3 separate regions of the Homo sapiens genome follow, and regions 1 and 2 are each linked to region 3. The links are contacts of gene promoters, found by promoter capture Hi-C in human tissues and cell types (Jung and others, 2019). All regions are on one chromosome and are shown on one strand. The core of a region is centred on a gene start or on the middle of the fragment in contact, and the rest is flanking DNA. Distances in the headings are between cores, read along the strand shown. Region 1 has its middle 90 kb from the start of DLGAP1. Region 2 overlaps DLGAP1 (DLG associated protein 1). Region 3 holds the start of DLGAP1 (DLG associated protein 1).

Region 1 (4,661 bases), core at 1,879-4,378, 91 kb after region 3:
AGGATATTTATCGTATGTCCACTTTTCTCACTTCAGTATCATTTTCATACAGCAGCTTGAGCATTTTATAACTAACAATTTGTATTAGTGCTGGTTACAAAAGAAAAATAACATTTTAAATGCATTTATACCTATAAATTTTACATCGAGTATAGAAAATGTACCTATATGCAGTTCTTACATACAAGACATGGTTCTAAGCACACATAACTCACTAAATCATTCCAACATCTCAATGGCTTTGGTACCATTAGTATTCCTATTTTATAGATAAAGAAGCTGGCATTATAGGATTCAGGAACTTGATCATGGTCTCAATACTTTGAGCACTGGCAGTTTGTCTTCAGAATCCAAGTTCTACTCCACTATATATAACTCCTTTGCAGAAGAGAGCTCATATTTTTTGCATATACATCAGTAAAAAATGAAATTATGTATGTAATTAGCAAGTGGTAAGAATTTTCAGACATGCTGTTTGAAACAGGGTTGGAAAGCAAATAGTGAAACTGGAAATGTTGTATATTAGAAGATGCTAAGTATTAAAAATGCAATGGAGAAGTTACTGTTAACTAAAGAAGCATCTTATTCCTTGGGTTGCTTAGTAACCAAGAATTTGGAAGGGAGCAAGGTAGTGGACTGCAATACCCACAAGTGGATGCTGAATTTGGCAAAAGAAAAAACATGGAGAACCTCTGAGCCAGAAAGCTCTTCCTTATCTCAGGATGAATTTATTCTGTGTTCTGAAATGCATAAAGTTGAAGAATCCACAAGTGATTTGTGTGATTGGTCAGGATTGGGAACTATGGCTCCCCATTATCCACAGTTTCACTTTCTGTGGCTTTATTTACCCAAGGTCAATAGCATTCCAAAAACAGTAAATGAAAATTCCAGAAGTAAACCATTCATAAGTTTTCAACTGCCTTGCAGCTCTGAGTAGCGTGATGCAATCTCGTGCCATCCTGCTGTGTCCTACTGGGATGTGAATCATCCTTTGTCCAGCCTACCCACGTGGTCTACGCTCCCCACCCGTAGTCACTTAGTTGCCCTCTCAGTTATCAGATCAAAAAAATATATATGTATACACAGCAGGCCCTCAAATAATGTTTCATTCAATGTCGTTTTGTTATTTGATGTTGCTGAGAAAAAAAAAAAAAAAGGATTCCTGGCTGGGGCCACCATCTGTGTGGAGCCTTTCTCCCCACATCTACATGGGTTTTCTGGGTAGTCTAACTCCCTTTCACATCCCAGAGCTGGTTCATTCGGTTCACTGGCATGTCTACATGGTCCCCATGTGAGTGAATATGGGCGTGAGTGTGCCCTGTGATGTGATGGCATCCCGTCCAGGGCTGGCTCCTGCCTTGTGCCCTGAGCTCCCGGGACAGACTCCGGCCACATGGAGACACCAACTGGGAAAAGCAGGTTGGAAATGAATGGATGAATACAAATTATTGCAAGATAAAAATTCCTCATCTACAATAATCATACAAATGCAGAACAATAAACAATGCAGTAGGAAAGCTCTCCTCGAACCGGCCGTATGTGTTGGATTTTGTTTTTGAAATGCGTGGTAGAAGGAGGTGCTCCTTGCAATTTTCACTCTGCAGACAATTCTTCCTTGATTTAACCCACCACCACGACCAATGTCACACACTGATTCACCAAAAATTCGGTAATTTTCTTAGTTTTTGTTATTATTATTATCTTAGACATGGAGTCATACTCTGTCAGCACAATCATAGTTTACTGAAGCTTCGACTTCCTGGGCTCAAGGAATCCTCCCATCTCAGCCACTGCAGTTGCTGGGACCACAGACATGTGCCATCATGCCCAGCTTGTTTTTATTAGTTTTTCTTAAATGTAAGTATAGGCAGTTACTTCAATGTTTAATATTAGAAGTGTTTTGCTCTTTATTTAGAAGTTTGGTGATGTTTTTGTGACCAGAAATATGACCTAGGAACTTAACTCTTGTTTATATTAATTAGCCCATGATAAAATTGGTTTCATAATACCTCATTTTGCTTAAAGTTGCAGTTTCCAAAAACATATCAATGACTTTATTGTAACTCTTGAGGACTTATTGTATAGAATTTGGTTCTATTCATGGTTTCAGGCATCCACTGGGGACCTTGGGTATATCCCATTAGATTAAAGGGAAACTGCTGTACTGGCATGGAGGGCTGTGATTGACAGCCCATTCCGTAACATGGTATATTGAATAAGTTCAAAATCATTAAAATGAACCATGGAGATCTATGCAACCTGGTGTGTCTCTAGCCTCAAGCTCACCGTTTTGGCCTCCTTTCTAAGGCTCCTGCCCTTTCCACACCTCTGATATCCATTGCACCCAGCACTTGTCACCCATGGCTTTTGTTGATTTCAGTCTTCTCCTTATAATGCTACCATTGGCTCTCTTACTCCTTTCCCTGGCTATTACTCATCTCATTTCATCTTATCTAGTTCAAGTCCTCAAGGATGTGACAGCCTCCCTTAGTTACTCCCTATATTTATTCCATCATTGCTCATATCAATACTAACTGCATAATCATTTATGAGATGATTTATCTAATATGTTTCTCCTACTGGCCTGTAACCTCTGTGAGGGAAGAAATTTGGAGTCTGTTCTGTTCACCCTTGTAGTTCCTAGTACTTAGCACAGTGCTAGGTATGTAATCACCACCCAATAGATATATGTAAATGAATAAATGAATGAACAAATGACCATTTTATGGCTGACAACATGATTTTTACTGAACTACTAACCTGTTCTAAGGGCCACATATTACTCATCAAGGTGGTAACTCTAAAGTAAGATTACCATTGCTTATTGCCAGTTAGGGGATTACTAGTGATTTCTCTCAACTCCATGAAGCAAAGAGTTTTAAGGATTTGTTAACGTTCTTTCTTTTCCCTTTCCTGATTCAGAAAGATTGACTACAAAAACTGAGAGTAATGTTAATGATACAATTTTATTGAAATTTAAATATCAAGAAAGCAAAGTTTTGTACTTCAATCGCTTCCCTTCCTTGACTTGATAGGTCATTTAAAAAATTGTCTTGTGCTTGCCAGTAACTATATGATGTAGTGCAAATAAATAGCAACCTCCACTGTTAAAAAATAAAGTTGTCAGTTTTACATTGTCAGGCAGCAATCATTAGCAAAAAGTTACAGTGATAGAGCTTCAATCTTTGAAAAACCAATGGATTTGTAATAACTTATATATACCAAAAGATGCCCCTTAAAAAATAACAAGTTATTCTATAATAAAATGTGATAAAGAGGAGAGACAACAATCTATAGGCACTAAAGCAATTTTAGAAGTAGTTGTTAAATTCTAGAAACTTAATCTTGTTTTCTGAATGTTTCTAATATTATAAAAAAGGAACGTGAACAAAATAGAAAATTAAGTACTCATTTTTACTGTGATGTTTACTGTAATGACTCATTATGACAGCTGTTGAAATGAATGGATTAGGTATTTTAATAACTTTATCTCCATATGTTTTAAGATGTTTGTGGCTTTACATTCAATATTTATCTAGGCATTTCAAATAACTTGTTCTGGCTCTTGTAGGCAAGGATATGTAGATAATGTACATTTATACTGTAGAATGCTAAATATTTAACCAAGTTTTTATAGCATATGATTTTAAAAAACAATTATGAGATGTACTGAAAAACTGATGTGCTTAGTTCATTCTCTAATCATCCCCTCTGCTTCAAACACAAAGCAATAACCACAAGTATAGTCAATGTTTAAGCCAAAAGGATTATTTTTAGACTCAAAAAGATAAATATCTTCTGAATATGATTGGAATGGAAATATCCAAAAAACGAATGAGGCAAAAGCCCTGGGTTTTCCCGAAAGTAGCCAAAAAACGGCAGTGTGCTATGTAAACTCTATACTGAACAGAGTCTAAGAACGGGTTGGTCGATTAGAAAACAGTATTGAGAAAGCTGACCAGCATGTGCCACAGAAAGACTATGGTAAACCAAAAGAAACAAAAGTTTTAAAAAAATCACCTGAAAAACAGTATAAATACATAGTGAGGCTCCAACCCTCATGGAATAAGAGTTTGATAAAAGCAGAATGTAGCAAATGTCCGAGCAATAAAACTTGAAGAAGTAATTGCTGAAAATTTTCCACATCAAAAGTATACTCCAGGTACTTAGCAGAATAAATTAAAACTAATGAATGCATATGCATATCGTCATGAAGTTGTAGAACATTAGGATAAAAAGAAAAATCTTAAAAAGCACTAAAGAGAACCAATGCATCACCAACCACGGAATGACCAATTAAACTAACAAGAGACATTGGCAACAACAGATGCTAGAAGACAATGGAATAATATATTTAAAATGCCAAAGGAAAGTAACTGTAAGCCATATACACAGATAAACTATTATCTGTGAGGGAAGAAAAAAATAATGTTTATGCTTACAATTACCAGAAGAATTTACCACCCACACAGAGTCTCATTAAAAGAACTATTAAGTGCATATATTTCAGCATGAAGAAAACTGAACAAAGAAGGAAGCTGTGGGATTCAACAAATAAATGAACATTCCAAAATTGATTAAGTGCTAGCACATTTCATTAACTATTGACCTTATGCAAAAACTTATATTTAAAAATAAGGATTTAAAGCTTATAGAGGAAT
Region 2 (4,200 bases), core at 668-3,167, 120 kb before region 3:
TGCAGAAAGACACAATAAGGCAGCGAGCAGTTAATTCATCCAATTAAAAAACAGTTGACTGAGCAATAAACAATTATCCCAATAGGAGCATATTTCTTATGGGTGAGAATGTCCAGAATAGAAATAAAGACATTTATGTGGTTGGCATCAAAGCCATCCCGAAGAATGAGCAGAAACAGTGGACTAAATGATAAAAGTGTAGCCAATCATAAAGCTGTTTTTTACCTCCCTCCCACCTTCCACAGCATGATCCACTACACGAGAGAAAAGACAAGGATCATTCCTAGGTCCTCTGGAATTAACTCAGTGCCTTGCACAGTATCAGTAATAAAAATTGGTGAATACATAATTTAATAGTTCACAAAGCCAAGAAGCCTCATCATACTGCTTAAGTTTGTTTTATCAGGACTTGAATTTTTAGGTTGACCGGTCATTGAAAATGCAGATTACTTTAACTGCAATGGGAAGTCCTGTGGTTTCACCTGGCTCTGGAAAAGGAAGGAAACATAAGACAGTACTGTCTGGAGGAAACAAGGTCCTCTTTCAAAGCAAAGTGGCTAACTCCAGGGCTTCACATCCAAGCTTATGCACTAAACCTGAGAATGTAAAAAAAGAAAAATAAAATTACATATGTCCTGTTTTAAGTCCTCAGGAATCAAATATTCTAAAATGTTTGGTGCAAAATGTGTTTTAAAGGAGCAATCAGCAATGTCACAGAATTGAAAGACTGCGTTAGAAAAAAAAGTGTGCACTCTACTGGGCTTTTGAAATTGAAAATTCTATCAGCAATTTATCATATTCAGGTATTTAAAGTGTGCATATGAAATACATGCCATGAATTATTTGTGACATTTTTATGATTTAGAAACACAAGACTATTGGTTGATTTCCATTGCCATTTGGGGCACAAATTGATATATCAAAATACAAGCTTCAGTTTATCACACAAGAAGCAGCAAAATGCACTATCAATGCCAATCTGCCTGTTATCACTATTAGCATACTGCAGTACGTCTATTACAGTGCACGTGCCGACAATGCCCTCCTGACCCACACACCATTCATAGGTACTTTTGCTGCCCATTGGCACAGAAAAAGATACGTATGCACCATACAACTCCATTCTTCCAACTCCAATTCTGCTTATTGGGCTATAAGTGAATAATTCCAGGTTGACCAATCATATTATTCCCAGAAATCTAATGTGGTCCATAGAGGTGGACTCTGTTAGCTCTAGACAGCTGATCTGGAAAGTCTGTAGAAACAACACTTTGAGGACCACTGTGCTGACCACATACAACTGTGGAAGAAGCTGGTCTGAAGGTAGAAAAATATAGACGAGTGAATTTGAAGAAAGAATGAAAGAGAGGCAATGAGGCCCAAAGATGCTGGCAGCTAAGGAGAGTAACGGCTACTTCTAGGCCAGGATGAGCTCCTGTGACATACCTACATAATATACTAGTGTGTCCTCCCAGTAAATACCCTTCACCAAAGCTTCTGTTCCTTCTATCAAAATGGTCCTGTGGCATCTAATCTTATCTCATGTAAGGGGCTGGGTCAGTGGCTAATTCAAAGCCTAACATCCACTCTACTTTAATTAATAGATGGCATTTTACTATTAACAGTTGATATGGACATGTATCGAACAAAGGAGCTTCAATGAATAAAACTTTTCTAGTTTGTTGTAGGGGCTTATAGAATTGAGTCTCTCTCCTATTAGAGTGTAAACTCCTTGAGGATAAGATCTAATCTAGTTTATGTTAGCATTACGGTATCTAGAGGCAGGCGGATCACGAGGTCAGGAGATCGAGACCATCCTGGCTAACACAGTGAAACCCCGTCTCTACTGAAAATACAAAAAAAAAAAAAAAAAAAATTAGCCGGGCGTGGTGGCTGGCGCCTGTAGTTCCAGCTACTCCGGAGGCTGAGGTAGGAGAATGGCATGAACCCAGGAGGTGGAGCTAGCAGTGAGCCGAGATTGTGCCACTGCACTCCAGCCTGGGCGACAGAGTGAGACTCCATCTTAAAAAAAAGAAAAAAGAAAAAAAAAAAAAGAGCAAAAGTAGTAGTAGGTCAGTTGATACATTGATAGGCCAATAGTTGGCTTTTTTTTTTTTTTTTTTGAGATGGGGTCTCACTTTGTCACCCAAGTTGGAGTGCAGTGGCGCAATCTTGGTTCACTGTAACCTCTGCCTCCCAGGTTCAGGTGATCCCCCCACCTCAACTTCCAGAGTAGCTGGGACTACAGGTGCATGCCACCACGCCCGGCTAATTTTTCCTACTTTTTGTAGCGACGGGGTCGCCATGCTGCTTAGGCTGGTCTGGAACTGATCTTTAAATGATTCACCTGCCTCAGCCTTTCAAAGTGCTGGGATTACAGGTGTGAGCCACTGTGCCCGGCAAAGAGATGGCTTTTTAAAACAATTATAGTTCATATCCTTAAAAAGATTGTAAGAAGAATTTACAAATGTATGACATTTTAGAGAGAAATATTTTAGCTCTAGTATTCTATAAAAATCACACAAATCTCCTCAAGAGTTGTGTGTCGGGAGCCAATTGTCAATTCCAACAAATAAGAAAAATAATTGACCAGCCGAAACCAAAAAAATACATAGATACATATATAAAGTCATAGTTTTCTCATAAACATCACTGAGAACATTACTGGCAGTATTGGAATATTTGAATCAAACCGCTACTTTTATACTGGAGCCATTTTAGTTTTTTTATTTCATACTTTCATAGCTGAAATGAAATTTCAGCTATTTCAGTGCTGTATTTTACAATGTTCTTTTCACAGAAGTCTTTGTCAGGGGTCATTTTTTTTCCATATTGTCTCAACATTTCCCTTCACTTCTGTTTCGCTTTTAAAAAATTATCAGTGGCATTTGAAACACCACATATTTTAAAACAGAGTGAATCATAGTTTTTATCTCTCTGCTGTATTTAAGATAATAATGGATGTTGAGTAGAAACTAATCTTACCACTAATTTTAGCATCCATTAAAAAATTCCAATCAGTCTCAGTTTGTAGATCTTTGAGTATTTTGTGAAACTGTACATCTATTTTCCACTGTCAAGGCAATCCATTTTCAAATCATGATCACAAATAATTTCTTGGAAAGAAATTACATTTTTACTGTTAAAGGATTTAAAAGTTTGGCCAGACACAGTTTTATCAGCTGGAATGTAAAATCCCTAAAAGTAGAAAATTGTTGTCAGTTTTGTTTATTGAGATATTTCCAAAATCCAGAAAGGTGCTGAGTACATAGTACATGTCCAATAATACTTCTGGAGTAAATAAATCAATCATACCAAGTGTCAATAGTTGGGAAATTTTCAAAGGCCTTTTATTATCCTTGTAACACAGGTTTGTTAAATGACCCTGGGCATGTACCTGATTATATTGATCCTTCAGGCATTCATTTCCTAAATGTGTACTGAGTGCCTATTATTTATCAGGAACTGTGGCTCAGAGAAAGTATACCAAGATGAATAGATTATAGACAGTTCTCTCTAGGAGTTCACGATGAAAAGGTAAATAGAGGAGTGTACATTCTTTGTATGGCAAGATGATAAATACGACAGACGGTGAATGAATAAGACATTAAATAAATTTACAGCAAGGAGCTGCTTGTTTCTTTATACATAGATTGAGAAGTATAATTGCAGATTCCATTATGCAAATAAACTATTTCCCCTATGTGATCATCTATGAATAATTTCATAGGTCACCAAGGCACTGATCAGGACATTAACAGAGTCATTTATTCAATGTAAATGGCCTATTATTATAGCGGACCTTCAAAAATACGTTATTTGCTCATATATTAAAAATTTCCTTGAAAATAACTTATTATACAAGTGCTTTCCAATTTATATAGCTCTGAGACTGTGTCCAACTGATGGGGACAAAATAGTCATTTAACACACCGCAGATCAATGATTTCATTTAGAATATGTACGCGGAAGGTTAGTTAAGAACTAAAGGGTCCTGACTTTAGACTCACATGAAACTGGGTTTTGACTCCATTCCCATGAATTATTGACTCTTTCAGTCTACTGAGTTAAGTCAGGACCAAGTTTTCATCTATATGTACAAACTTTCTGCTGGTGTCAAAAAATACAGTTCATCAGAAGACCAAACACTGCATGTTCTTACTTATAAGTGGGAGCTGAACAACGAGAACACATGGACAC
Region 3 (4,241 bases), core at 1,275-3,774:
AAATTCCCTCCTAGGGAAAACTCATATACTCATTATTTCCCCAAAGCACAATTGCTTGTGTGAGATTTAAGAAGCCTTGTCAGAAAATTATTTTGACATATTTAAAAGAATGTTAACCAGTTCCTTTTGCCCATATTTATATTGCCTGTAATGTTTGAGATAAAGTATTGTATTTGCAGACTAATCTTAGAATGAAATATAGAGAAATAGATAGCTATAAATTTAAAAAAATCTATGTATGCAAGTACATTCTTCTTTACTCACACAAGGTAACTAACATTTTCTCTTAAGTAAATTAGTTTTTTAAAAATTCACAGAATTTTATATCTGCGACTAGGGGTATTGCAAGGCACTAACCAACTGAAACAACTTTACATTTAAGTACTAAATCTAAAGGAAATTAAGAACAGGGCTACTGACACCTGACTTCTATGAACTTTCTTGTTTCATGCCAGAGTATGAATTTTCTGAACCAAGGGTAGCGTTTATAACTTAAACTTTTTAAAATCATACATTTTGCATAGACATATTCATTATTTCTTTATAGGCTTGAATTTCCTTTTAAAAACTTAAAGAAAACTTTATATTCTTCTGGCATGAAATAAATTAGGATCTTGTAAAATTTCTTGCCTCCATGTCATTTCCGTTCAAGTTTTATTCAAGGAATAAAAAGTATTGCTTTATATGCAAAATGACCTAGGCCAATAGAAAGTCGTTTCCTGAACTGAAATCGTGCTATAAATAACAGTCAAAGGGCTGTTCTTTTTAGAACAGCTCTTTCAGGGTAAAAAATAATTTGCAGGATGTTTGCCTTAGGACCTAAAATCGCTTTCCTAGTTCTCAGCATTTCTCATCTCCATGTCTAACCACATCTTAGACTGATCTATCCTCACCTTCTACGAAGCCATTCACGAAGACCACAAAAGCTAAAAGATCTGTCTTTAATTGGTACTTTTATTATATGTCTTTCCTCGTAATTCCCTAACTTCACGTGTTATGGAAGGAGGCAGGGAGCATTCACCTCCCACGACCGGGAGTCAGTCTCTGTGTCAGGAGTAAGGAGTGAAGAGTCTCGCCTGGATCCACAAAAGACGTGACATCTCCCACCCAGCGTCCCACTGCTTGCCGCCTGGCTACCTTTAACCCCTTGCCCTCCGCACATCCTCCCCTTCTCTAGCAGAAAATTCCGCAGCGCTACGGTCGGGCTGGAGGCAAGCCCTGCAGCCGGGGGCGAGCGCGGCACTCGGACACAGGCACTCAGTGTCTCCGGCGCCGGCAGCCGAGCCACGGGCCACCCCTTCCCACGGCCTCCCGGTGCCACCCAGCGAGGCCGGGACAGCGCGCCTTCCGCAAAAAGCGCAGCAGCCGAAGTCCTGAAAGCAGGGTCTTCATCGCCGCGGGCCCTCCGAAGGTGCCTCTCCCAGCTGCAGCCGCCCCTCAATGAAAGTGCAATGTGTTATCTCGCCCAGCCCAGAGGAGAGGTCCCTGTTTGGCCTTGGTTCCAGCCCGGCTCATTCAATTCGCTGAATGTCGGGTCTCCCGGCCCGCCCCGCGATTCTCCGGGAATTGGCCTTGGCCGCGGGCAGGGGGCGACTCTCCAGTGACCTCCTCCTTGGACCCCATTTCTCTCTCTCTCTCTCTCTCTGTGCCTGTCTTTGTGTCTCTGTTTCTTTGGCTTTCTCTTACAAACGCACGGGGGAGTTGGTCCTTTTCCACAATGCCAAAATGTCACCCAAAAAGCTAGTGCAACAACTTGCTTTGCAAACGACCCAGGAGCCTGCCGAGAAAGCCCTGCGGGGAGCAGCCCCCTCCTCCCCTGCAAGGTGCATCGGGGGTGGGGTGGGGGTGCGAATTTGACCGGTGGACATGACCGGGACAGGGGACCGGTGTTCTCCTCCCCTCCCCCTTCCGGGACCCTGTCGCAATTAGAAATCCTTCCCCTGCCTGGGTCCCCGTGGGGAGCCGCGAGGACCGCATGGCCGGAGAGGACGCGCTCGCCCCCGAGATCCCAGGTTACCCGGAGGGCCCGGGAGTGCACCCCGGGCGGCTGAAAGGGTAAGGAGCGCGGACTCTCGAGCCAGCGGCCGGGGGAGCCCAGCCCGCAGCCCCTCCGCGGGCGAGGGAAGCGGCGACCGCGCGGCAGGCAGCAGCCAGGAGCCACCCAGCGCGCCGCGACCGCCGCCGCCGCGCACGCCCCAGCCCCGCGGCGCAGCCCGGCGTTACCTGGCCGCGTCCCGCAGTCCGGCCCTCGCTGGCTGCGTCCGTCCGTTGGTCCCACGAGCCTCGGAGGAAGGAGAGAGATGTCCCCGCGACCAGGACCGGCTCTCAGCGAGGTGACGGGAAGGACTCGAGAGAGGAGCCGAGGCGGCGGCGGCCGTTCGCGCCGCCTATGCTGCCGATTCCCCGAGGCGGAAGGTGTCCGCGAGGCCGTGTCCTGGAGATTGCGGCGCCCGAAGCGCAGCGCTCGCCTCTGGAGCGGAGGCTGAGCGCCGGGACGCGGCGGGCTGGGGCTGCAAGGCTGGGCTGGTGACCCGCCCCTGGGTGCATGTTAATACGGTGGGGAGGAGGAGTCCCGCGCTTCCTCCGCCCAACCACCGGAGCCGGCGGGCGGGCGGCGGCCGCGGCCCGGAGCCAGCCGCTCCCACCCGCCCCAGCTACTACGGCGCGGCGCGACCGCGGGCTCCGGCCCCAGCCCAGGCACGTGCGCCCAGGCCGCGGGGAGGCGCCGGCGCCTCCCGGAACGCGCTCCTGGCCTGCGAGTGCTGCCCGCTCAGTCTCCGGGTGGGAAGTGCGCTCGCCCCGGACCGAGGGGAAAGCCCAACATCCCCGGGATGGAACAGAGAGGCGGCCACCCGTGAGTGGGCGTGACCCATTGGTTCCCTTGCGCAGCATCTGTGGAGAATTAAGCTTTCCCCTCCTCTCTTGCCAGCCGTTGTTCCTAATCTTGTCTTTTTTAAGGGAGGAAAGCAGGAGAACTCATGACACTTTGTATCACAGGAAATCAAGTTGGTGGACAGAGGGTTTGCTGACCTCTCCCGTCCCTCCTCAGGGTCCCTAGGAGAATTTTTGAAGAAGTAATCGGCAGCAAGGAGATGGGGGCAATAGAGAGTCTCAGACTCGCAGGGACCCATGTTCGTCCCCAGCGCCACTACTTTCAAACCGTTATCCCTCAGAGCTGTTTCCTCACCTCCACAACAACTCTCCCGGGTTCGATGACACTATATATCCCACCAGTTCATCTTGGTACAGGCCAAAAGGTAATTCAAAAAGCGAAACGAATCTCATCTCCTGACCTGTGCCCTCGGTAAAGTCCCCAGGTTCCACCCCAAGTACACTTGGAAGCCAGGCCCCTCCACACAGGCTGAGCACCACGCTTCCACAAACTGAAAACAGAGAGAATCCACTTGGTTTCAAAGTTAGAATAGGGATAGCGGCGTGAGTGGGTGAATTGCGATGTGGGTCAAGGAGAGAAAAAAGTAAATCAATTAAGTATTTATTGAGCTCCTGCGCTGCCCACTTAATTGCAAACGTTACAGTAGTTAAAATAATCGTGGTTAATCACTGCCTTATTATTTCCTTCTATTAAAAAAAGAAATGGCATCTTCATGGAGAATGTCCTTTGTTCTACAGCTTCCTGAGGGAATATTATGCCAAAAAGTACATAATCTTTATGTAATTTTATCCAGAAGTTATAGCATAAGATTTAGCATCTGTTTTGTGTGATGTCTAATTATAAATATTAATAGAATATCCTTTTAAAGACAACACTTCTAAAAATGCAAGGAAGTGAAAAACAGTTTTCATAAAAATATGACTCAGATAAATAACCTCTTTCCTGCAATTTCACTGAGTGATTTTCCATTAAAGAAAATAACAATTACTGAAACCACTAAATGGAGGTAAATTCTCAGCATTGTAATATCATGAGCACCGACGCTTTAGCAATGATCTAAAAGATATTCTCAGACAATTCAAGAATTACTATAGGGGCCCAGCTCAGTGGCTCACACCTCTAATCCTGGCACTTTGGGAGGCCGAGATGGGCAGATCACTTGAGGTCAGGAGTTCAAGACCAGCCTGGCCAACATGGTGAAAACCCATCTCTACTAAAAATTCAAAAGTTAGCTGGGTTGGTGGTGGGCGCCTGTAATCCCAGCTACTCTGGAGGCTGAGACATAAGAATCACTTGAACCCGGGAGGTGGAGATTGCAGTGAGCCGAGATCACACCACTGCACTCCAG

The links. Contacts are between HindIII fragments. The study calls those that stand out against the background at their distance.
Region 1: a contact is called between a fragment that was not itself captured here and the fragment with the promoter of DLGAP1 in region 3, in 2 of the 25 tissues and cell types used here (dorsolateral prefrontal cortex and spleen).
Region 2: a fragment that was not itself captured here is called in contact with the fragment with the promoter of DLGAP1 in region 3 in 3 of the 25 tissues and cell types used here (dorsolateral prefrontal cortex, lymphoblastoid cells and spleen).

The regions. Positions count from the first base shown.
Region 1 is chr18:4,543,397-4,548,057 of GRCh38, forward strand. No RefSeq gene overlaps it. Among named protein-coding and RNA genes, the nearest start is that of DLGAP1, 90 kb to the left of the region's middle. The HindIII fragment of the contact is 4,768 bases long and covers 745-4,661 here.
Region 2 is chr18:4,335,089-4,339,288 of GRCh38, forward strand. All of the region lies in intron 1 of DLGAP1 (DLG associated protein 1), which reads right to left. Among named protein-coding and RNA genes, the nearest start is that of DLGAP1-AS5, 73 kb to the left of the region's middle. The HindIII fragment of the contact is 7,157 bases long and covers 1-4,200 here.
Region 3 is chr18:4,452,783-4,457,023 of GRCh38, forward strand. It overlaps DLGAP1 (DLG associated protein 1), which reads right to left and starts at 2,525. Exons shown (of 13, transcript NM_004746.4): 1 at 2,224-2,525. RefSeq lists a silencer at 2,545-2,674. The HindIII fragment of the contact is 8,504 bases long and covers 1-3,919 here.